Regions from separate parts of the Homo sapiens genome. Here all the other regions are linked to region 1. Evidence: promoter capture Hi-C in human tissues and cell types (Jung and others, 2019). All regions are on one chromosome and are shown on one strand. Each heading gives the region's core, a stretch centred on a gene start or on the middle of the fragment in contact. The rest is flanking DNA. Distances are from core to core; before and after follow the strand shown. Region 1 holds the start of MAFF (MAF bZIP transcription factor F). Region 2 holds the start of TOMM22 (translocase of outer mitochondrial membrane 22). Region 3 overlaps DMC1 (DNA meiotic recombinase 1).

Region 1 (4,303 bases), core at 926-3,425:
CCTGGCATCTGGTCCAGGACAAGGGCCCAATGGCAATGCAGGGCCCAGGGGTGATTCAATGGGAAGTTAAACTTCTCAGTGCTAACTTTCCATCTGGGACTGAGTCAACCAGCCACTTCCCCTCATCCCCTGACCCCAGGCCCTACTTTGTAATGTTTCCTGCCCAGCTTTGAGGGTGGGCCTGTCTGGTTCCTGTGCTCCTGGCCCCAACCCTCCTGACTCAAACCCCACCTACTCTTGGGTACCCCCAGCTCCTGGCATGGGGCTGTCAGCCCTGCTTTCTCTTCCACAATTCACCTGGAAAATACGCTGTCTGCACAGACTTCCAGAGCTTCCCCCTTCTACCCACCATCCTGCCATCCTGGCTGTTACCTAGTTCCCAGTGGTAGATGGGAATACTGAGGGTCCGGGCTGCTGTAGCAGAGCTCACCCAGGGTTCAAAGATCCAAAGTCAAAAGATCATTGGTTCCTCACCCTAGCAAGTTCAATTGCTCCCCTCCCACAATTCCATAGACCGTGGGTGGGTGGGTGGAGGGGGAAGGTGGATTAAGACCAAGGAATCTCTAGCCCCCAGCCCATCCTGCAGGCGGCTACGACAAACAGGTGCTTTCTGCAGGGCTATTGGGTGAGTGGGTGGGTGGCGGCTAGGTCAGGCCCCACCCCTCACTCATTAACCCTCCGTGCAGTCAGAGTTCTATCCCCAATGCCTACTGACCCTGCCTGGCCCAGGGTGAGGGCACTCGGGGTCTGTCGGCTGGCTCAGAGCCTCAGCTAGCTTCCGGCGTCCAGCTGTAGGTCAGTCTAGTCTCACCAGTCCCACTTGTGAACTGAAACTACCAGGAGAGCGGAAACCGGCTCCGCCCCATCCTCCACGACCTAGCAGGTACAGCCTCCAGAACCCGGACTAGCTAAAAGCCTGTGGTCCTCTCCCTGCGCCGCACCCTTGCAGTCAAGGTTTTCTGGCCCTTCCTGTTCTCATGGGACTGAGGGGATGGGCAACCCTGGGGACGAACGAGAGTCCCTTGGTTCTTCCCTCCCCAGGAAGCCCCAAAATCTGGGGACAAGAACCTGGGCTCCAACTCACTTTGTTACCAGATCCACCGGGGTGCCAAGCGGGGGTGGCTCACATCCCTCACTCCTAGCTCAGCTGGGTGGGGTCTTTGATACCTTGCCCCACCCTGTGGCTGCGGGCGCGGGCTCTGGGCGGGAGACAAACACTGGGGTCACGTGGCGGAGGCCCTGGGAAACTCCGGGGAGAGCCGGGGACGGACAGCCCCGGGTAGTAGGACTGGGGCGGCCCGGGCCAGAATTCCCAGACCCCGTGCGAAGACGCACGGGTCCGCTTCCTTCGCTCGGGTCCTTGTTCCGCGTTTACTCCGGTGGCCGGCCCAGGGCACGCCCTCTCCGAGGTACACACTGCTGGTGTACAGGCCCCAGGGAGCGCGCGCGCGGACACGCACACACAAGCACAACACACGCACACACGCCCCCGAGGTACACAGCGCACGCACGCACCGGGCAGGATACCCAGGCCGCCCGCCAGGGAACACACGCCCGCCCTCGGACGTAAACAAACCGCGCACGCACCGCCCGCGGGCGCCGGGCCAGGGCCTGTTCCCACCGAGTCACGTAGGAGCACAGCGCCCCCGCCCCCGCCGGGCGGACGCGGAGATCGCCGGCCTGCGCTGCCCCTTCCTCCCGGCGCCGCCGCCTACCCGCCCGCGCCCCGGGAAGGGGCCCCGTCTCCACCCCCACTCCCCCGAGCTGGCCTCGGCCCCGTCCTCGGCGTCCCCGGGACGGCCGCTCCCTTCTCCCCGCCCCGAGCCGTCCGGGCGATGGAGCTCCGGGAGCCCCGACGGATCGGGCCCGGGCGCCCACCCCAGGCGCATCCCGGGACGCAGAAACCCTGCCGCCTTGGGGTCCCGCGCACCGTCCTCCTGGTCCCGCGTTCCTCACCCGCTTCTGGGCCCGCTTGGTCCGGCGCGCTCACACACGCGCGTCTCGCCGCTGTCCCGGCCGCTGTCCCGATCCGCGCTCCGGTCAGTCTCCCCTCCGCTCTGAGCCGCAGGTCGCTCTGAACCGGGCGCCCGGGAGCGCTGCGCTGAGTTTTGTTGTGGGGCGGGCGGCGCAGGGGGCCGAGGCCGCGCGGAGTTGTAAGGCGAGCTTCCCGGAATTACTCACTCACAGGATTCCTTTCATTCATAAAAACCCAGTCATGCGGTGACGTCACCGACCCGGCCGCCCTCCGGCCAGGAGCGGCCGCTTGGTCCCTCGGCCCCGCCCCCGTATGACCCCGCCCCCTGGAAGCCCCGCCCCCGGGGCTGCCGCGATTCTCTGCCTGGTTCCAGGGCTCGCTGGGTGCGTTCACGTGACACCTCGCGAGAGCCCCGTGGGTGTAGGTGTCATTGGCTCATTTTACAGGTAGTGGTCCTGGCCCTCTTCTTTCGACCTAGACCTTCTGCCTTAATGATCTCATCCAGTCCCGTGGCTTTAAATGACATTTATATGGCTATGAGCCCCAGGTTTGTATTTCCGGAGCGAACAGCTTCTCTGAGTTCCAGACTCATAGCCAGCTGCCCACTCTGCGCATCCAGTGGGTGTCAGATGGGCACTGCAGAGGACTCGGCCCAAAAACCCGCTCCTGATCGTCAGCCCTACCTCTGCTCCCTTGCCACCCCATCTCAGCTGCTCAAGCCAAAACCTTGGAGCCTGGCTCCATCCCTCCCTCTCCCTTCCTCCCCACCTCAGGACTCAAGCTAGCGGTGTCTCCAGGTCTCCTGCATAGGACCATTTCTCACCACCTCCAGTCATGGCACCTGGTCTCGGCACCATCAGCTTACCCGGACAATGGCAGCAGCCTCCGAGGCTCCCTACTTTGCCTCCAAAGTCTTTCTTTCTATACCAGCCAATGTTCTTCTCAAAACAAAGCTCAGGTTGTTTACACACCTTCTTTGGCCACTCTCTCCTCATCCACTGCTCTTCGGCCACAGTGCCCTTCTTTCTGTCCCCCAAACATACCAAGCTCATTCCTGCGACAGGCCCTTGGCACTGGCTGTCTGGTCTTCTGTTCACTTGCCTGACTCTTTCTCATCTTTCACGTCAGCCCGGATGTCACTGCCTCAGAGAGACATTTCCTGACCACCCTGGTTAAAGCAGTCTTCACCTCTGAATTTTTTTTTTTTTTTCGAGACAGGGTCTCACTCTGTCACCCAGGCTGGAGTGCAGTGGCACAATCTCGGCTCACTGCAACCTCCTTCTCCTGGACTCCAGCCATTCTCCCACCTTAGCCTCCCAAGTAGCTGGGACCATAAGCACACACCACCATGCTAGGTTCATTTTTTGTATTTTTTTTTTTTTTTTTTTTTTTTTTTTTTTGTAGAGACAGGGTTTTGCCATGTTGCCCAAACTGGTCTCAAACTCCTGGACTCAGGCAATCCACCCACGCTGGCCTCCCAAAGTAATGGGATTACAGGCGCAAGCCACCGCACCCAGCCTTGAAATTTGTTCTTATATTATCTTAATACTTCTGTAGGGTGTTTCATCATTTATGTATGTGAGTGCTGGTTATTGTCTGTCTTCCCCAACCAGAATGTATGTTTTATGAAGGCAGGCCTTGCTTCTTTTTCTTTTTCTTTTTTTTTTTTTGAGACAGAGTCTCACTCTGTTGCCCAGGCTGGAGTGCAGTGGCATAATCTTGGCTCACTGCAACCTCCGCCTCCCAGGTTCAAGGAATTCAGCCCCCCAGTAGCTGGACTACAGGTGAGTCACCATGCCCAGCCAGGCTGGTTTTGAACCCCTGACCTCAGGCCACCCACCTCGGCCTCCCAAAGTGTTGGGATTGCAGACATGAGCCACTGCGCCTGGCCAGGCTTATCTTGTTCACCACTGCCTGCCCAGTGCCTGGAGTAGTGCTTGGCACATAGTAGGCCCACAGTAAATACATGTTGAAGGAATACATGACTGGAGGCTCAGAGAGGTGAAGGTGACTTTCTAAATTCACTCAGCTAGGAAGTACAAGCACTGGAATTGGTATCCAGGTCTGAATGATTCCTGGCCCAGATGTTTGGGGGTACATCGCAACCAGGGGAGGAGGGCCACATAAACATGAGGGGTGTGCGCCGTGGTGGGAAGCCCCACCCAAAAGAGATGGCTTTGGAGGCCACGTGCGGGGTGGATGTTGCTGTTCATCCCCTGCTTTCCTTTGCTCATGATGTTCCCACTGCCTGAAATTCCATCGCTCCCACAGTCCCTCCTGTGAAGCCGACATCATGGCACTTACTCCACTGTGGAGGGCATAGGGCCT
Region 2 (4,303 bases), core at 829-3,328, 480 kb before region 1:
AGTAAGGATAGTGTGGAGGGCACAGTTGCAAGTTGAGTCTTTCCATGAGACAATGTGGGGATAATTCTCCCCACCAGGTTTAGATAGATCAATGTGCCAAAGTTAAAAAAAAAAAAAAATCCAAATTATCAGCAGTTCAAACACTTGAATTTCAAACTTATCCCACTGAGACAGCTCAAACAGCAATAACAATCTAGATCTTTCCAGGAAGTGAGGGTAGAGCCCCTGGCATTCCTCCTGAGAGCCCTGTGTTAGGTCCTAGAAGTATCTGGAAAAGAAAAGGAGGGGTGTAAGGCATCATACAGGCCTAGAGAGCTTATTCTCACCATACCTGATGGGGCCAACGTCTACAAAAATAATACTGAAAGCACAGTCAGACAACTAAAAGAGCATGGGCCCGATCCCAATCCCCACCCACACATTAACTGTTGGTCAACTCAGGTGCTACAACAGGAGCCCTCAACCCCTGGGCTGTGGACTGGCACTGGCCCATGGCCTGTTAGGAGCTGAGCCACACAGCAGTAGATCAGCAGCAGGCAAGTGAGAGAAGCTTCATCTGTGTTTACTGCTGTTCACCATCGCTCACATTACTGCCTGAGCTCCACCTCCTGTCAGATCAGCAGCAGTGTTAGATTCTCATAGGAACACAAACCCTTGTGAACAGTGCATGCGAGGGATCTAGGTTGCAAGCTCCTTATGAAAATCTAATGCCTGATGATCTGTCACTGTCTCCCATCACCCCCAGACAGGACTGTCTAGTTGCAGGAAAACAAGCTCAGGGCTCCCACTCATTCTACGTTATAGAATTATTTCATTATATATTACAATGTAATAATAGAAATTCAGTGCACAATAAATGTAATGCACTTGAATCATCCAGAACCCCCCCCCCGACCCCCGGCCACCCCCAACCCACCATCCATGTAAAAACTGTGTTCCATGAAACCAGTCCCTGGTGCCAAAAAGGTTGGGGACCAATGTGTTAGTGAAATAACTTGCGTCTCCACCACTGGCAAAAAGCCCAAGGTCTGGGCTCACCTGCCGCTGCTGCAGTTGCTGCTGTTGCTCCATTTGCAACTTCTCCGTCTCAAAGACAACGGGAAGAACCAGGATCATAAAGGAAGTGGTCCCAATCCACAAGGCTGCCCTGGAAAACCTGCAGAGGAAAATCCCCAGAGGGTGAGCATGAAGACATGCAAACAAAACAGGCAAGAACTACCCAGTAACCAAACCTCTCACATTACATACTCCAATGTTTTTGATAAACGTATTCTACCCGCTCCTTACACCATACTCCTACCAGAGACAGGAGGAGCAGCTATGGTAGCTGTATCATCTAGTGATGGCGGTTTAACATTCTCCTGAGTTCTTACAAAGCTCCTTATTCATTAATTATCTCCAACAATCTGAAATAACCCCCACAACTCCCCTGCCAGGTAAGAATCCCCATTTTACAGAAGAGGAAACTAAGAAAGGATAGGGTACAAGCCCAAGGTCACCCAACACGGGTCTGCTGCTTCCAAACCCCGTGTTCTTTCACAGCACCACGACCATCCCATGCACGTACCCAGTGCCTTTGCCCTCGTTCCTTACCTGTACATTTTCTGAGCCACAAAGAGGGAAAGATCAAAAGTGGCTCCGGCCGCGGACCGGACCCTCTCCGGAAACATCTCCGTCAGGCCCCATAGTCTCTCCGACAGGGTCTCATCTAGCTGTGGTGGAGTAGACGCGGGTCTTAGCCGAAAAAGCGACATCCATTCCTGGCCCCGCTGCGGCACTGGGAGCCGCCGAGCCCCACTGGAGCTAGGGCACCCAGGGCCCAGCAGGGCCCCTAACCCCGCCTCCCAAAGCAGCCGCTTCGCTCCGATCCCGTACCACGCGGATCCCACACCCACGAGCGGGCCCGCTTCCCGCTCTGCACCCCGCGAGGCCCTAGTACCTCCTCATCGTCGTCCTCCTCCAGCTCCTCCTCAGGCTTCTCCGCGTCGCCTTTCGGGAGCAATTCGTCCGGGGACTGGGGTTCCCCTGCACCGGCAGCAGCGACGGCGGCAGCCATGACTGTAGGGGACACCGGAAGCGGAAAGGAGGTGAGCGCAGCCGAACGGCGGACAGAGCTGCTTTTCCGGGAGCCGAGGCGCGAGCCGGGCGAGAGCGGCGCCCTCTAGCCCCGGGTCCTCCAGTGCCCGCAGCGGGTCCGGCAGCCCTGGCCTTATCCGGGCGTCGGGGCTTCGGCGGGCATTAGCAGCAGCTGAGAGGCCTGTGAGAGGTTCTGGGGCGCCACCGCAGTCATTCTGTTCAGCGGGTATAGGGTGAGCTCAGAAACTTGCTTGTTTTTCTTTTTTTCAAATGCGTTGTTTTAATTCCAGGTAATAGAGTTCAGGGGAGAACAAAGATCAAAGGGCTGACTCTGGCAAGATTCTGGGGGCTTGTTTTACTTTAAGTTCACAGCTAAGGTAGGAGTGGCTGAGTGAAAACAACTCAAGAGATGATGAGCCACTGTATTTTTTTTTTTAACAAAAGTTTATTCTTAAATTTACAACAGGCTCCAAGACAACACTTTATTCGAGCATAGGTGGCCAAAGATGTGGCCGGGAATAGAGATGTTTAAAGACGAATGGAGTCAGGCCCACCATCACCGCAGGCCCAAGGGACAGTGGAACAGGTCGCTTTTTGTAAGATTTTAGCTTTTTGTTGTTGTTGTTGTTGTTGGTTTTGTTTTGAGACGGAGTCTCGCTCTGTCGCCCAGACTGGATGGAGTGCAGTGGTGTGATCCCGGCTCACTGCAAGCTCCGCCTCCCAGGTTCAAGCGATTCTCCTGCCTCAGCATGCACCACCAACCACGCCCCGCTAATTTTTTGTATTTTTAGTAGAGACGGGGTTTCACCATTTGGCTAGGCTGGTTTTGAACTCCTGACCTCAAGTGATCTGCCCGCCTCGGCCTCCCAAAGTGCTGGCATTACAGGCATCAGCCACCGCACCTGGCCTATATATAGTTATATATTATATATAATATATATTTTATGTGTGTGTATATATATACGTATATATGTATATATATGTATATATGTGTATATATGTATATATGTGTATATAGGTATGTGTATATATGTATATATATACATACGTATACATATATACGTATTATGTATATATACATACACACATATACACACACACACACACACACACATACATATATATATAAAGACAGGGTTTCACTGTGTTGCCTAGGCTGGTCTTGAACTCCGAGACTCAAGCAATCCGACTGCCTCAGCCTCCCCAAGTCCTAGGATTACAGGCCTATGCCACTGCGCCCCACCTTGCCGGATTTCTTAATTCGGCCTGTGACCAGGGCCAAAGATTTATCTTCCTTGTCCATCTCCTTGGCCTGCTTCTTGGGCTGTTTTAGAGAGACACTGATCCAGTTTCGTTTTCCTGAGCCATGTTTTACTTGGTAGGAATAAATTAGTGTCTTGCAGGTCTTTTGGGAAAACATCAGGTAAATCTTCCCTATGTACCAAACAAAGGTAAGAGTTAACACCTAAATACCAGGTGCTCTGGTGCCTGTGGGTGTGGGTGGGTGCGGTGTGTCCTCCTTTAATCTTCACAGCAGCTCACTGGGGTAGGCACTGTTATCCCCATTTTAGAAATGAGGAAACTGAGGCATAGTACATAGATTTCTAGTAAGTAGGTGAGCTGGTCAGAAAGTATGCAGATATAAATTTTTGTTTGAGTTTGTGTGTTTGTTTTTGAGATGGAGTCTTGCTCTGTCGCCCAGGCTGGAGTGCAGTGGCATGATCTCAGCTCACTGCAACCTCCTGGGCTCAAGCGATTCTCCCGCCTCAGCCTCCCAAGTAGCTGGGACTACAGGTGTGTGCCACCATGCCTGGCTAACTTTTTGTATTTTTAGTAGAGATGGGATTTCACCATGTCGGCCAGGCTGGTCTAAAACTCGTGACCTCAGGTGATCCACCCGCCTTGGCTTCCCAAAGTGCTGGGATTACAGGTATGAGCCACTGCTCCCAGCCTCTATCAGATGCTTTCATAATAGTACAGTAAATGGAAATGTCCTTGTCCCACACCCTCCCCAGCATTAGGTGTTATCCATCTTTTTACTTTTTGCCTATATGATGGATGTAAGTGCTTCTTTTTAAAATGTGCCCCATGTTATTAAACAGGGTAATTTGATAAACACCTTTAGCCAACTGAACCTGGAATCAGAGACTCCCAGGATGGGAGAGTCCAAATCCTTCTGTGATGCATGAGGATGCAGTAATGAGCATTTGTCCTGTGTCTCACACTC
Region 3 (4,303 bases), core at 790-3,289, 360 kb before region 1:
CTAGCCTGGGTGACGCAGAGAGAAACCTTGTCTGAAAAAAAAAAATTAAGGAATTACTAAATTTAAGTGTGATAGTGGGAATATGGTTGTTAAAGATGAGAGTCTTCATCTTCATCTTTTAGGGATACATACTGAAATATTTATAATGAAATGATATGTTGCTTAGTATATGCTTAAAATAATATGGGAAGGGAGGTAAATGGTTAGTGGTCTATATGAAAAAAGATTTACCCTGAGTTCATAGTTGACGATTGTTGAAGCTGAGTGATAGACACGATGGTTCATTATTTTTTTTCTACATTTGTTTATGCTTGATATTTTCTATAATAAAAGATTAATATATAATATATGTTATTTTTATGTGTATATGTGTGTGTGTACATAGAGAGTGAGAATATAATTCAACTATTTCTTACCACCTCTACTGTTACCTCACTGGACTAAACTACCACCTATTAATATCTCCCCTGGATTATTATAATAACCTCTAATTAACCTCCCTCCTTGAGACCTTGCCCCTACTGTTTTGTTTTTTTTTTTAATTCACTAAAGAGCCAGAATGGTCACTTTAAAACATAGGTTAGGCTGGAATGCAGTGGCTCATAACACCCTGATGATTCCCCCTCTCACTCAGAAAAGAAGCCAAAGTCCTCTCCCATCTCTAATATTTCACTTTTCTAGTTTTCTATGTACCAGCCATAGTGACCTCTTTGCTATTCCCAGAATATGTCAGATACACTCCTGCATCAGGGCCTTTGCACTTTGTGCTGCCTCTGCCTATCATATTCTTTCCTCTTAGATCTACATGGCTTGCTGTCATCTCTTTCAGGTCTTGGCAAAAATGTCCATGTCTCAATGAGAACTTCTCTGATCACTTTATTTGACAGTATAACCTCCTAACTTTCATACTCTGTCTTCCTTGTCCCCTTTCCTGGCCTTATTTTTATCCATACCATTTAATAACATCTGATGTACTACATATTTTACTTATTTGTGTTTATTTTTTATTTTATTTATTTATTTTTTTTTTCAGACGGAGTCTTGCTCTGTCACCCAGGCTGGAGTGCAGTGGCATGATCTCAGCTCACTGCAACCTCTGCTGCCCAGGTTCAAGCGATTCACCTGCCTCAGCCTCCCGAGTAGCTGGGATTACAGGTGCCCGCCACCACGCCCGGCTAATTTTTGTACTTTTAGTAGAGACAGGGTTTCAGCATCTTGGCCAGGCTGGTCTTGAACTCCTGATCCCATGATCCACCGCTTCAGCCTCCCAAAGTGCTGGGATTACAGGTGTGAGCTACCGGCGCCTGGCCTATTTGTGTTTATTATCTAATCTCTCACTAGATTGTAAACTTCGTGAGAGAAAAAAATTCTGTCTCTTTTGTTCTCTAGTTTATCCCAAGTGCACAAAACAATCCCTGGCATAAACTAGGTGTGCAATAAATATTTGTTGAATGACTAAATGAATGAATAAACAAATAGTGAATAAGTTTGAGAAGTACCATATACTATATATTCTTCTTGAAGAGTCACAGCGCACACTAGCCTGTGAAATCCTGCAGTGACACAAAACACCTGTTTTGGCAGGGCACGGTGGCCCACACCTGTAATCACAGCACTTCGGGAGGCCAAGATGGGTGGATCACCTTAGGTCAGGAGTTCTAGACCAGCCTGGCCAACATGGTGAAACCCTGTCTCTACTAAAAATTACCAAAAAAATGGCTGGGCACGGTGGCTCACACCTTTAATCCCAGCGTTTTGGGAGGCCGAGGCGGGTGGATCACTTGAGATCAGGAGTTCGAGACCAGCCTAACCAACATGGAGAAACCCCGTCTCTACTAAAAATACAAAAAATTAGCCGGGCATGGTGGCATGTGCCTGTGGTCACAGCTACTCGGGAGGCTGAGGCAGGAGAATCGCTTGAACCTGGGAGATGGAGGTTGTGGTGAGCCGAGATCGTGCCACTGCACTCCAGCCTGGGCAATAGAGTGAGACTCAGTCTCAAAAGAAAAAAAGAAAAAGAAAATACCTGTTTAACCCAGCATTGTCCCAGACTTTTAAAATCACATACCCTTTTTTCAAGTAAAGTTAAGGAAGAGGCTTGGAGAAATCCTACCCCTAGGCAAATTGGTCAAAATGAGGTTGATCAACAAAACACTTGATTCAAATGACAATCTGATTTTCTTTAGTTACTCTACCACATGGTGGTCTAAGAACCACTGGGCTAAAGAAATAATTACTGTTATTGTGAGTTTTCTGGTGCCCTTGATGTTTGCTCTTGAGAACAGAAAAGATCATTCAGGAGCTAGGTTTTTTTTTGTTGTTTGTTTGCTTTTGAGACAGAGTCTTGCTGTGTCGCCCAGGCTGGAGTGCAGTGGCATGATCTCGGCTCACTGCAACCTCCGCCTCCTGGGTTCAAGCAATTCTCCTGCCTCAGCCTCCTGAGTAGCTGGGACTACAGGTGTGTGCCACCACACCGGGCTAATTTTTGTATTTTTAGTAGAGACAGAGTTTCACCATGTTGGCCAGGCTGGCCTCGAACTCCTGACCTCAGATGATCCACTTGCCTCGGCCTCCCAAAGTACTGGGATTACAGATGTGAGCCACTGCGCCCAGCCAGGAGCTAGGTTTTTAAAAATTAATATTTAATTAATTAAAATATTATACATTTTTCCTTAAGCTTTAAGTCCCTTTATAAATCTAGCACATTTTAAGGGTGCTTTTATAACAAGATTAAATTCTCTTAAACATTTTAATTATGTTTATACATTTAGTGTATTGTATTTTCTTTAAGAACTTTATTTGTTGGCCAGGTGCACTGGCTCACACCTGTAATCCCAACACTTTGGGAGGCTGAGGCGGGTGGATCACAAGGTCTCTACTAAAGACAGGATCACCCTGTCTCTACTAAAAATACAAAAATTAGCCGGGCATGGTGGCGGGTGCCTGTAATCCCAGCTACTCAGGAGGCTGATGCAGAGAATTGCTTGAATCCAGGAGGCAGAGGTTGCAGTGAGCCAAGATCACGCCACTGCATTCCAGCCTGGGCGACAGAGTGAGACTCCGTCTCAAAAAAAAAAAAAAAAAAAAAAAAGAACTTTGTCTAATTATCTAATTATTAACAGCAAAATCTTCCCAATTACCTAAATATCTTTTGTAACTCAAATAAATTTAGAAGTATAGTGAGTTGTAGGCACCATTAAATGTTCAAATACTATTTATAAAATTAGTTATCAACTTGAAAATTGAAGGAATGTACCATTTAATCAGTCAGAGGCCAATCCATTACAAAAAGGTCAAATTATCTTAAACGTTAAAAGGTCTCAAATAGCAAATATGCACAGGTTATTACCAAATTTATTTATTTATATTCTATTTTATTTTTTGAGACACGGTCTCACTCTGTCACCCAGGCTAAAATGCAGTGGCTCCATCACGGCTCACTGCAGCCTGAGTAGATGGGACTGCAGGCACAGGCCAGCATACCTGGCTAATTTTGGTATTTTCTGTAGAGACTGGGTTTCGCCATGTTATCCAGGCTGGTCTTGAACTCCCAGGCTCGAGCGATCCACCTCCCTCGGCCTCCCAAAGTGCTAAGATTACAGACATGAGCCACCATGCCCATATTGCCAAATTTAATATGAAAATAGTAATCTATGGGTTTGATTTGTGTCTCTATTTTTAAATCTCCCTATATTTAAAAACACTATTTCTACACTTAATTCTAAATTTTCCTGAGTCTCAAAAAGGAAACAATTGTGCTATCCCAAATAATTTGGGGTATCCTCACAGGTAAATTTTGGGGTTACCTTTTCAGCTGATTGAGATTACATATCAACCAGGAATTTTGTCTGGGATTTTCCAGAGGTATAGCTTTCCAGGGTAATTTTTCTCAGGAAGAAGAGGGACAAATAAAGCTTTCTTTAATAGTTGCTAGCCCAACCACCATGGCACACGTTTACCTATGTAACAAACCTGCATATCTGGCACATGTACCCCTGAATTTAAAATAAAAGTTGAAGAAAAAAATAGTTGCTGGGCCTATAAGATTTCCAAGTGTATTCCCTCCAAATGGGTTGATCGCTTAGCCCATGTCCTTTAGATTTAAGTTGTGCAGGTACACTATCTAGATTTTTCTTTTCCTTATTGAAGTCTGCAGCCCTCACTAAATTTGTGGATAACTTCCAACATTGTTTCAATTTACATTTAAATTGCTCTCTTAAACTATGTAAATGTAAATGTATTGGATTATCTATATATCTTAAATTTTTGTCTGACCTGTGATCACATCCCAAAAAATCATGTT

The links. The method cuts DNA at HindIII sites, captures the fragments that hold promoters and counts their contacts. A contact is called where the count stands out against the background at its distance.
Region 2: the fragment with the promoter of TOMM22 here is called in contact with the fragment with the promoter of MAFF in region 1 in 1 of the 25 tissues and cell types used here (lymphoblastoid cells).
Region 3: a contact is called between a fragment that was not itself captured here and the fragment with the promoter of MAFF in region 1, in 3 of the 25 tissues and cell types used here (dorsolateral prefrontal cortex, hippocampus and lymphoblastoid cells).

Annotation. Positions count from the first base shown.
Region 1 is chr22:38,199,866-38,204,168 of GRCh38, reverse strand. MAFF (MAF bZIP transcription factor F) reads right to left here and starts at 2,175. Exons shown (of 3, transcript NM_012323.4): 1 at 1,957-2,175. RefSeq lists silencers at 589-668, 1,519-1,958, 2,019-2,348. The HindIII fragment of the contact is 8,533 bases long and covers 783-4,303 here.
Region 2 is chr22:38,679,732-38,684,034 of GRCh38, reverse strand. It overlaps TOMM22 (translocase of outer mitochondrial membrane 22), which reads right to left and starts at 2,078. Exons shown (of 4, transcript NM_020243.5): 1 at 1,940-2,078; 2 at 1,594-1,712; 3 at 1,039-1,156; 4 at 1-268. The coding sequence starts at 2,056. The coding sequence ends at 194. It overlaps TOMM22-DT (TOMM22 divergent transcript), which reads left to right and starts at 2,179. Exons shown (of 2, transcript XR_007068097.1): 1 at 2,179-2,309. RefSeq lists silencers at 1,735-1,784, 2,175-2,244 and enhancers at 1,975-2,044, 1,091-2,290. The HindIII fragment of the contact is 12,362 bases long and covers 1-4,303 here.
Region 3 is chr22:38,556,745-38,561,047 of GRCh38, reverse strand. All of the region lies in intron 5 of DMC1 (DNA meiotic recombinase 1), which reads left to right. Among named protein-coding and RNA genes, the nearest start is that of DMC1, 11 kb to the left of the region's middle. The HindIII fragment of the contact is 5,518 bases long and covers 1-4,303 here.